Linked DNA regions of Homo sapiens: region 1 is linked to region 2. The links are contacts of gene promoters, found by promoter capture Hi-C in blood cells and fetal thymus (Javierre and others, 2016). All regions are on one chromosome and are shown on one strand. The core of a region is centred on a gene start or on the middle of the fragment in contact, and the rest is flanking DNA. Distances in the headings are between cores, read along the strand shown. Region 1 overlaps PILRB (paired immunoglobin like type 2 receptor beta). Region 2 holds the start of MBLAC1 (metallo-beta-lactamase domain containing 1).

Region 1 (5,727 bases), core at 1,797-4,296, 240 kb after region 2:
TAAGGAGGGCCTCAGCCTAGGGCGCAGCAGAGAAGGTGGGATGGAGACTGCTATCACCTGGATGCCACCCTGACTCACTGTTGGTCCCCCTACACGTCAGCAGCGGACTAAAGCCACAACCCCAGCCAGCTGAGTGCTGGGCCTCCCCAAGGGAGTGGGGAGTACAGGTGCGGGCAGGGGACGGGTTTGGAAATCAGGGACTGTGCTGCTAAGAACCCCACAAGCCCAGCCTGCCACAAATTCTCCTGAGTTTTTGCCACCTCCCACTTAAATCTGATCTCTGAAGCAACTGCCTCGCCTGCCTCACTAATAATCCTGGCCCTGCATCTAAAAACACTTCCCCTCCTGCAGGTAGCAGGGCGCCAAGCAGTGACTTCTGACCAACAGAGTGTGGGGAGAAGGGATGTGTATTAGCCCCGGAGGACGTGATGTGAGACCCGCTTGTGAGTCCTCCACACTCGTTCCCCATTGGCAAGATACATGGAGAGCACCCTGAGGACCTTTAAAAGGCAAAGCCGCAAGGCAGAAGGAGGCTGGGTCCCTGAATCACCGACTGGAGGAGAGTTACCTACAAGAGCCTTCATCCAGGAGCATCCACACTGCAATGATATAGGAATGAGGTCTGAACTCCACTGAATTAAACCACTGGCATTTGGGGGCTGTTTATTATAGCAGTGCAAAGAGTTCCTTTATCCTCCCCAAGGATGGAAAAATACAATTTATTTTGCTTACCATACACCCCTTTTCTCCTCGTCCACATTTTCCAATCTGTATGGTGGCTGTCTTCTATGGCAGAAGGTTTTGGGGAATAAATAGCGTGAAATGCTGCTGACACTTCCCTGTGCATCTCCCACATGGCTGCCAAGTGCCCCTTCCTGCTCTGCAGTACCTGAGTCCAGTCATGATGCAGGGAGCCTCCCCACTAGAAACAGATGGCACTCACAGATTTAAAGCAGTTGGAAGCAAGTTTAAGAAGGGAAATCTTTTTTTTTTTTTTTTTTTTTTTTTGAGACAGAGCCTCACTCTCATCACCCAGGCTGGAGTGCAGTGGCGCAATCTCTGCTCACTGCAACCTCTGCCTCCTGGGTTCAAGCCATTCTCATGCCTCAGCCTCCCAAGTAGTTGGGATTACAGGCGTGCACCCCCACACTCAGCTAATGTTTGTATTTTTTAGTGGTACTGGAGTTTCACCAAGTTGTCCAGGCTGGTCTCAAACTCCTGGGCTCAAGCAATCCTCCAGCCTCAGTCTCCCAAATAGCTGCAATTACAGGCGTGAGCCACCATGCCTGGCTGAGAGGGAATCGTTAAGAAGGAGTGGGCAGGGGCAAGAACACTGTCAGAGACAGTGTGTTGGCCACGGCTACTACAGCAAATTGGCTGCTTCCTGTGATCGCACGGGTTGAGGGCTCAGTTCCACAAGGCTGCCCCAGCATCAGATGCCAGTCGCAAGCTCACGTGGTGCCTGTGCTTCTGACACAGGGCTATAAAAATTGAGGTTCCCATGATCCCCTCCTTGGGTTCAATTAATTTTCTAGAATGGTACCTAGAACTCAGGGAAGCCCTTTACTTACATGTGTCCCCTTATAAAGGATATTATAGGGCCTGGCGCCATGGCTCATGCCTGTAATCTCTGTGCTTCAGGAGGTTGAGGGGGGAGGTTCACTTGAGCACAGGAGTTTGAGACCAACCTGGGCAACATAGCGAGACCCCGTCTCAAAATAAAGATATAGGATATTACAAAGGATAGTTATGAACAGCCAGATATAAGAGATACACAGAGGGAGGCCTGGGGGAAGGGGTGCAAAGCTTCCGTGTCTTCTCTAGGCACTGCACCCTCTAGGAAGCTCCATGAGTTCAGTTATCCAGAAGCCCTCTGCATCCCTTTTGGGTTTTTATGGGCTTCATTATAAAGGCATGATTGGGCCAGGCACAGTGGCTCATGACTGTAATCCCAGCACATTTTGAGGCTGAGGTGGGAGAATCAATTGAGCCCTCAGGTGGCAACTGAGGCTGCAGTGAGTTGTGATTGCACCACTGTACTCCAGCCTGGGTGACAGAGAGAGAGCCTGTCTCAAAAAAAAAAGACAAAACAAAAAACCTGGCCAATACGGTGAAACCCCATCTCTACTGAAAATGATCGTCACCTGATCCCCACCCCTTGAAGATGCCTCCACCCTCTCCATACGCATTTGGTCAGCACTAACTGCCCTGGGTGACAGGCACACTGCACTGGGTGACAAGGACCCAAAGCTACACCAGCCAGTGCCCCAGCCCTCAAGCACCTCCCTGTGCAGAAGGAAGACAACACAGAAAAGGGAAGCATGGTTGTCACAGAGGCCCAGAGGACTGCTGGCTGATGTCACTGAATGGGGAAGTGGTTGGCCGCACAGGCCCCAAGCTCAGACCTGATGCCACAGTGGACGTTCCTGGGCCATGTGACCTCAGGCTAGGCTCAGAACCACCCTCAGGGCCTCCGTTTCTTTCTGTATAAATTGAGGACCATACAGAGATGCTGCCTACCTCCTGGGATTGTCCAGAGAGTTAAAAGCTCTTTTAAAATGCGCCTGCTGGGCCAGGCACAGTGTCTCACACCTGTAATCCCAGCACTTTGGGAGGCTGAGGCAGGCAGATCACAAGGTCAGGAGGTCGAGACCAGCCTGAACAACATAGCAAAGCTCCATCTCTACTAAAAATACAAAAAGTAGCCGGGCGGGCATGGTGGCACGTGCCTGTAATCCCAGCTACTCAGGAGGCTGAGGCAGGAGAATCACTTGAACTCAGGAAGTGGAAGTTGCAGTGAGCCGAGATTGTACCATTGCACTCCAGCCTGGGTGACAGAGCGAGACTCCGTCTCAAAAAATAAAAATAAATCAAATGCACCTGCTGGCAGGGCGCGGTGGTTCATGCCTGTAATCTCAGCAACTTTGGGAGGCCTAGGCAGGTGGATCACCTGAGGTAAGGAGTTCAAGACCAGCCTGGCCAACATGGTGAAACCCCATCTCTGCTAAAACTACAAAAATTAGGTGAGCATAGTGGTGGGCACCTGTAGTCCCAGTTACTCGGGAGGCTGAGGCAGGAGAATCGCTTGAACCTGGGAGGCAGAGGTTGCAGTGAGCCGAGATGGTGCCACTGCACTGCAGCCTGGGCGACAGAGTGAGACTCCGTCTCAAAATAATAATAATAATAAAACAAAATGCACCTGCCATTTCTTTCCATCAGGTATGGCCATGGAAATGAGGGTCATAAGGGAAGCAGTGTATCCTCACAGATCCCCAGAAACGAGAGACACAGCCATGCAGGGCCACTTGGGAAAGCACCAGGGTCCCTCAGGGAGTAGAGGAAGCCAAGGGAACACAGGGGTGAGACCCTTTGTTATGCTTTCCCTGGAAAAGGCAAGGAAGGGTATGCAGGTTTAGGATTGGCTAGTTAGAATAACGTTAGCAGGCTCTGGGGATTAGAGGCTGTCATTTGTTATTTGGTGTCTGGCCCAGGATGATGAAGGCAGAGAAATACTGCCTTCTGAAGGGTGAGAGGCAGCTAGAAGAGCTGGTTCAGTGTTGGGGCCCTGGATTAGCTGGTTTGCATATGAAAGGCACACTCAGCCAGGAGCCGTGGCTCAAGCCTGTAATCCCAGCACTTTGGGAGGCCGAGGTGGGCAGATCACAAGGTCAGGAGATGGAGACCATCTTGGCCAACGTGGTGAAACCCCGTCTCTATTAAAAATACAAAAATTAGTTGGGCATGGTGGCACGCACTTGTAATCCCAGCAACTTGGGAGGCTGAGGCAGGAGAATCGCTTGAACCCAGGGGTGGAGGTTGCAGTGAGCCGAGACCGTGCCACTGCACTCCAGCCTGGCAGCAGAGTGAGACTGTTTCAGAAAAAAAAAGGGACACTCTCAGAGGGGTCATTTGCTAGCTCTAACAACTGGCTGGCTCTGGCAGGGGCAGTCCCTCTCTCTGCTCTTGGAGGTCCAAGATGCCAGAATATCAGCAATCCAGTGGGGCTTGGTGAGGTGGCTCACACCTGTCATCCCAGCACTGAGGGAGGCCGAGGCAGGAGGATTGCTTAAGCCCAGGAACTTGAGACCAGCCTAGACAACATAGTGAGACCCCATCTCTCAAAAAAAAAAAAAAATTAGCCGTGTGTGGTGGTGTGTGCCTGTGGTCTTCACTACTTGGGAGGCTGAGGTCAGCAAATTGCTTCAGCCCAGGAGTGATGGTGATCGCGTCCCTACACTCCAGTCTGTGGACACTCTAGTACCTTGAGGACAGTACAGCCTGATTACAGAAGCTTTACAGCAAGTCTTGAAGTCAGGTATTATAAATCTTCCACCTTCATTCTTCATTTGTAAAGGCCTTTTGGCTATTCTAGGTCCTTTGAATTACTGTGAGAATATTACAGTTGGCTTGTGAACTCCACAAAGCCTATGGGATGTCGATTGGGATCAGAGGAAAGCAGGAACGGTGGGTGCCAAGGAGAGGTGAGGGGCTGGGGGCAGGGACGGATGTGGCCAGTGAGGACAGTAGGATACTTGTTGGGGGAATGTGGGGACATCCAAGCAGTGGTTCTCATAATGCGGTGCAGGGTACTTACCCCCTCCCTGCCCCTGCTCCCCACACACGACTTCCCACGCCTCTCCCATGAGCACCTGCACTAAGGGGCTGCATTTAGGCTCTGCCCACATTGGAATCATGCCCTCCTCCAGGCCCTCCTCCTCCTCTCAGAAGCCCTGTCTGTGAGAGAGCCACAGCCCCAGGCTCAGTCCCAGGTTCTGTCACTGCTGTTGGGGGAGGGAGGATGAACAAATCCAGGAGACCTCACACCATCCCAGAGCAGAAATCCTGACACAGAAGGAATCTCCCATGGGGGTTCAGCTGGATCCAGGGCCTGAAAGTGACATAAACATGCATGTTGCATCTAAGGAGACTGCACGTGGCAGCATTGGGCAGCATGTGCCCTCCAGAGCTACCCAGAGGCTGTTGGCTATAAGTTCTATGTGGCCCCCACATTGGACAGCCTGGTAAGCAGGTGACCTTTCAGCCAGGTCCTCAGGTGGGGCGGGCCACCCTCTCGAGGCCCTGCCCAGACAGCCAGGGGGTCCCTTGTCCTCTCTGCAGCCCATCTTTCCAGCTGTGACCAGTTCAGCCCAAAGCCCCCGTCCCTCAGTTTCCCTGTGGGTTGAATGGAGATAATGTGTCACCTCAGAATGTTGTGAAGCAGAGAATGAGGTGTTTAGGGCCTGGCTCAGACGGAGGGGTTTCCTGAGCATGGGGAACCTGTTTCCTCAGGCCTGTAAAGGGAGGGAGGGCGGGCCGGCCTGGCTGGCCCTGGGAAGCACAGAGGAGCCTACTAGGACCAGGGAAGAGACTAAGAGAAGGGAGGCCCGTCCCTGCCTGCTTCTGTCTCAAGAAGGCTGATGTCACTTCCTCTGATGAAATCCTGTCTTCCCCCACGGCCCCTCAACTGATGCCACCTCACCCTGGAGAGGGTGGGCAGAGCCTCCTACGGAGGGAGCCCTGTGCACCACCAAAGCTCCCTGCTCCAGTGACCACCCCCGGGCAAAGGCCGGCAGATCCCCGTTAGAGATGGGCCCAGGACTGTGTGTGGGGTGGGTGTTGCTCTGAGCCTTCACTTTCTTCTGTGTCCAAGGAAGCTTCTGGATCAGCCAAGGGCTCAGGTGTGTGGAGGGAATGACCTGAGGGGCTGTATGAAGGGACAGCCTCCTG
Region 2 (5,345 bases), core at 1,754-4,253:
ACTAAAAATACAAGAATTAGCCGGGCGTGGTGGTGTGGTGGCATGCATCTGTAGTCCCAGCTACTCAGGAAGCTGAGGCAGGAGAATCACTTGAACCCGGGAGGCGGAGGTTGCAGTGAGCTGAGATCCCACCACTGCAGTCCAGCCTGGGTGACAGAGCGAGACTCCATCTCAAAAAAAAAAAAAAGTAACAATGGTTGCTAATGATATCCACCATCACTTATTGAGCACCTACTGTGTCCCAGACTCTGGACCAGATACTTTGCATCTGTAGCCTCATTTTACCCTTAACAGCCTGATGTGGTAGGTGCAATTACCATACATATTTTACAGGCAAGGAGCTGAGACTCAAGAGTTTAATAATCTACTTGGCAGAATAGGTGCTGGTAAATGTTTGTTGAATGAATGAGGATTGCACATCTAGTAGGCCAAACTTAGCTTCCTGGCTACCTGCCTCTCCAAAATCAGTCAGGTTGAGCAGGGAGAGAAGACAGGCGGGATCCCAAATCCCTCCAGAGCAGATACTCTTCTGGCCCTTCTACTTGACCAGTGTGAGACCATGTTGGAGGAGTTTGAAGACATTGTGGGAGACTGGTACTTCCACCATCAGGAGCAGCCCCTACAAAATTTTCTCTGTGAAGGTCATGTGCTCCCAGCTGCTGAAACTGGTAAGCGTAAGGGTTGAACTCCTCTCCTGCCAAGCCATAGCCTCCCCTGCCTCCAGGACTAATATCTAAATTGTTTTCTGTCATCCGATCTAGCATGTCTACAGGAAACTTGGACTGGAAAGGAGATCACAGATGGGGAAGAGAAAACAGAAGGGGAGGAAGAGCAGGAGGAGGAGGAGGAAGAGGAGGAAGAGGAAGGGGGAGACAAGATGACCAAGACAGGAAGCCACCCCAAACTTGACCGAGAAGATCTTTGACCCTTGCCTTTGAGCCCCCAGGAGGGGAAGGGATCATGGAGAGCCCTCTAAAGCCTGCACTCTCCCTGCTCCACAGCTTTCAGGGTGTGTTTATGAGTGACTCCACCCAAGCTTGTAGCTGTTCTCTCCCATCTAACCTCAGGCAAGATCCTGGTGAAACAGCATGACATGGCTTCTGGGGTGGAGGGTGGGGGTGGAGGTCCTGCTCCTAGAGATGAACTCTATCCAGCCCCTTAATTGGCAGGTGTATGTGCTGACAGTACTGAAAGCTTTCCTCTTTAACTGATCCCACCCCCACCCAAAAGTCAGCAGTGGCACTGGAGCTGTGGGCTTTGGGGAAGTCACTTAGCTCCTTAAGGTCTGTTTTTAGACCCTTCCAAGGAAGAGGCCAGAACGGACATTCTCTGCGATCTATATACATTGCCTGTATCCAGGAGGCTACACACCAGCAAACCGTGAAGGAGAATGGGACACTGGGTCATGGCCTGGAGTTGCTGATAATTTAGGTGGGATAGATACTTGGTCTACTTAAGCTCAATGTAACCCAGAGCCCACCATATAGTTTTATAGGTGCTCAATTTTCTATATCGCTATTAAACTTTTTTCTTTTTTTCTAAAAACTAGCTGGGCCCAAAGTTTCAAACAACAGCCGGGCACACATAGCTAGCTGGTCGATGAGGCAGCACCCAGAATGGCCGCTGTCTTGTTAAGCTCAAGCTCCAGCCTGAGCAACATAGTGAAACCCCAATTCTACACACACACACACACACAAAGAAGACTGCAGGGCTGGTGGTGCAGCGCCTGTAGTCCCAGTTACTGCAGAGGTGGAGATGGGAGGATCACTTGAGTCCAAAAGGTCAAGACCAGCCTGGAGGCTGGGCGCAGTGACTCACACCTGTAATCCTAGCACTTTGGGAGGCCGAGGCAGGCGGATCACCTGAGTGTAGGAGTTCGAGAGCAGCCTGGCCAACATGGAGAAACCTCGTCTCTACCAAAAATACAAAAATTAGCCGGGCGGCTGGGCGCGGTGACTCACGCCTGTAATCCCAGCACTTTGGGAGGCCAAGGCGGGTGGATAACAAGATTAGGAGATCGAGACCATCCTGGCTAATACGGTGAAAGCCCGTCTCTACTAAAAATACAAAAAATTAGCCGGGTGTGGTGGCAGGCGCCTGCAGTCCCAGCTACTCGGGAGGCTGAGGCAGAAGAATGGCGGGAACCCGGGAGGCGGAGCTGGCAGTGAGCCAAGATCGTGCCACTGCACTCCAGCCTGGGTGATAGAGCGAGACTCCGTCTCAAAAAAAAAAGCCACGCATGGTGGTGGGCGCCTGTAATCCCAGTTACTCGGGAGGCTGAGACAGGAGAATCGCTTGAACCCAGGAGGCGGAGGTTGCAGTGAGCTGAGATCACGCCACTGCACTCTAGCCTGGGCGACAGAACAAGACTCCGTCTCAAAAAAAACCAAAAAAAATTTAGAGGGGCGTGCACGCCTGTATTCCCAGCACTCCAGGAGGCTGAAGCAGGAGGATCGCTAGAACCAGGGGTTCAAGACTGGGGCGAGCTATGATGGTGCCCCTGCACTCTAGCCTGGGCGACAGGGCGAGACTGTCTCAAAAGAAAAAAAGACCAGGCGCGGTGGCTCACACCTGTAATCCTAGCACTTCAGGAGACCAAGACTGGAGGATCGCTGGAGCCCAGGAGTTCCAGACCAGTCCTGGCAACAGAACTAGACCGTGTCTCCAAAAAAAAAGAGAAAGAAAAAATAGAAACCTTAGCTGGGCTTGGTGGTGCGCATCTGTGGTCCCAGATACTCGGGACGCTGAGGCGGGAGGATCACATGAGCCCAGGAGGTTGAGGCTGCAGTGAGGTATGATCGCGCCACTGCACTCCTGCCTGGGCAACTGAGCATGAACCCTCCTCAAAGCTAATGGCGCTTCAAAATTCTGCAGTGCAAAGAAGTTGCTGGGGTTGCGGAGCGGAGAACCGCCAGGAGGCTGGAGCCCAGCCAGGCAGCCTCCTCGGGCACACGGTGAAGGCGCCGGAACTACAGCTACCTCCGCGGCGCCGCTTCGGCCGCCATATCTGGGTACACGGGAACCGCAGAGGACAAACTCTCACCCGCGTTTTCGATTTCTGCGCTTTCTTCGAGTGAGGCAAGACCTAGCAGAGGCCCAAGGTAGAGCGCGGCTAGGATTCGATGGAGGGAAACATAAAGGATAGCCTTTGGAGGGTGACGGGCAAGGACGTACGTACCGCGAACGGAATGGGGCGGGGGCCGAGGACGCCGAGGGAGGGGCGGGCCCAAGTGTGAAGGGAGTCTGGGCGATACCATTTTGGGCAGGGGTTGAGGGTGATACCAACTTAATGGGAGGCGGGTGGCAGAGAACCGAGGCTTAGGGGCAGTGGCGGGGCCGAGCGCGGGTGGGGGATCGCGGAGGGACAGGACGGTCGCCCACTGCTCCATTTCCTTTCTCCCCAGCCCGTCCCTCCCTGCCAGGAGCAGCCTCATGCGGACCGAGCCGCTGTGCGGGGCATCCCCTCTGCTGGTGCCCGGCGACCCCTACTCTGTGGTGGTTCTGCTGCAGGGCTACGCGGAGCCAGAGGGTGTGGGCGATGCCGTGCGCGCCGACGGCTCCGTGACCCTGGTCCTACCCCAGACCCGGGGCCCGGCCTCCAGCCACCGAGAGTCCCCGCGCGGGAGTGGCGGCGCAGAGGCCGCCCTGGAGGAGGCGGCCCGTGGCCCCATCCTGGTGGACACCGGGGGCCCCTGGGCTCGGGAGGCGCTGCTGGGGGCGCTGGCGGGGCAGGGCGTGGCCCCGGGAGACGTGACGCTAGTGGTGGGGACCCACGGGCACTCGGATCACATCGGGAACTTGGGGCTGTTCCCAGGCGCGGCTCTGCTGGTCTCGCACGACTTCTGCCTTCCCGGAGGCCGCTACCTGCCCCACGGGCTGGGTGAGGGGCAGCCCCTGCGCCTGGGCCCGGGGCTCGAGGTGTGGGCCACGCCGGGCCACGGGGGCCAGCGCGACGTGAGCGTGGTGGTGGCCGGCACGGCTCTGGGCACCGTGGTGGTGGCGGGAGATGTGTTTGAGCGAGATGGGGACGAGGATTCGTGGCAGGCACTGAGTGAAGACCCCGCAGCCCAGGAGCGGAGCCGGAAGAGGGTCCTGGTCGTTGCCGACGTGGTCGTACCTGGTCACGGGCCCCCCTTTCGAGTGTTAAGGGAAGCCTCGCAGCCCGAGACGGAGGGTGGAGGGAACAGCCAGCAGGAGCCGGTGGTCGGAGACGAGGAGCCCGCCCTGCACTAATCAGCCTCGAGAGGGACTGCACTCTTGTCAGGGAAGCCCTAACAGCGAAGAGCTGCTGGAGACAGAGTCAGAGCAGTCAAGGGTGGGAGCTTCCAGCCCTTCCAGGAGGCCAGTTTTCTAGTGAAGACAGAGTGCACCTGACACTGCCATCACATCGTCAGTATCACTGCCTGTCTCTGCCACCAAACTAAGATCAAAGGAGGGGCTCAGCTCCCTGTGCATTCTCCCTGGGCCTCAGTAAAATGGGAGAAGGTTCGTGGGAGGGGCCTCCAAAATAAAAATGGAAACTGCATTGAAAATCATAGTGCCCTAGTGTAAATGTGAAGCATTGACAATGATAATCGTGCAAACATGGTAATCTACAACTACAGCAGAGGCATACTTTGGCCAATTGCCCCTTTCTTATAGGATGGAGGTTGCTGAGAGAAGGTACAGGGCATAAAGATGACCCCTTAGTCACCTGACTTATGTATTTGTTCATATTTTTTTGTCACACAGGCTAGAGTGCAGTTGTGCAGTCATAGCTCACTGCAGCCTCCAGCTTAAGCCATCCACCTGCCTCAGCCTCCCAAGTAGCTGGGATGACAGGCAAGTGCCACTATGCCCCACTAATTTTTTTTTTTTTTTGAAACACGGTTTCACTCTGTCCCCACAGGCTGCAATGCAATAGCACAATCTTGTACTGCAGACTGCACTGCAACCTCTGCCTCCTGGGTTCAATTGGTTCTTGTGCCTCAGCCTTCCCAGCAGCTGGGATTACAGGCTCACACTACCATGTCCAGCTAATTTTTATATTTTTAGTAGAGAAAGGGTCTTACCATGTTGGCCACACTGGTCTCAAACTCCTGGCCTCAAGTGATCTGCCCATCTCAGCCTCCCAAAGTGCTGAGGTTACAGGTATGAACCACCATGCCTGGCTATCAGCTAATTTTTTTTTTTCATTTTTTTTCAGAAATGGTCTCACTGTGTTGCCCAGGCTGGTCTTGAACTCCTGACCTAAAAAGATCCTACCTTCTCAGGCCCTCTGCATTTTTTTTTGCTGGGATTACAGGCATGAGCCACTGTGCCCTTCCCCAAGTGTGATGATTTAATATCTGTTTTCTTTCAGCAGC

The links. The method cuts DNA at HindIII sites, captures the fragments that hold promoters and counts their contacts. A CHiCAGO score of 5 or more calls a contact.
Region 1: a contact is called between a fragment that was not itself captured here and the fragment with the promoter of MBLAC1 in region 2, in 1 of 17 cell types (total CD8 T cells). The highest score is 5.8, in total CD8 T cells.

The regions. Positions count from the first base shown.
Region 1 is chr7:100,366,998-100,372,724 of GRCh38, forward strand. It overlaps PILRB (paired immunoglobin like type 2 receptor beta), which reads left to right. Exons shown (of 4, transcript NM_178238.4): 4 at 352-834. The coding sequence ends at 380. It overlaps STAG3L5P-PVRIG2P-PILRB (STAG3L5P-PVRIG2P-PILRB readthrough), which reads left to right. Exons shown (of 17, transcript NR_036570.1): 17 at 352-834. It also overlaps a transcript of PILRA not described here. Among named protein-coding and RNA genes, the nearest start is that of PILRA, 3.6 kb to the right of the region's middle. RefSeq lists an enhancer at 3,407-4,158. The HindIII fragment of the contact is 2,485 bases long and covers 1,805-4,289 here.
Region 2 is chr7:100,123,964-100,129,308 of GRCh38, forward strand. It overlaps MBLAC1 (metallo-beta-lactamase domain containing 1), which reads left to right and starts at 3,004. Exons shown (of 2, transcript NM_203397.3): 1 at 3,004-3,101; 2 at 3,405-4,532. The coding sequence starts at 3,433. The coding sequence ends at 4,233. It overlaps CNPY4 (canopy FGF signaling regulator 4), which reads left to right. Exons shown (of 6, transcript NM_152755.2): 5 at 551-668; 6 at 762-1,545. The coding sequence ends at 925. It also overlaps a transcript of TAF6 not described here. RefSeq lists enhancers at 1,574-2,243, 2,954-3,023 and silencers at 3,224-3,343, 3,434-3,913. The HindIII fragment of the contact is 8,479 bases long and covers 1,193-5,345 here.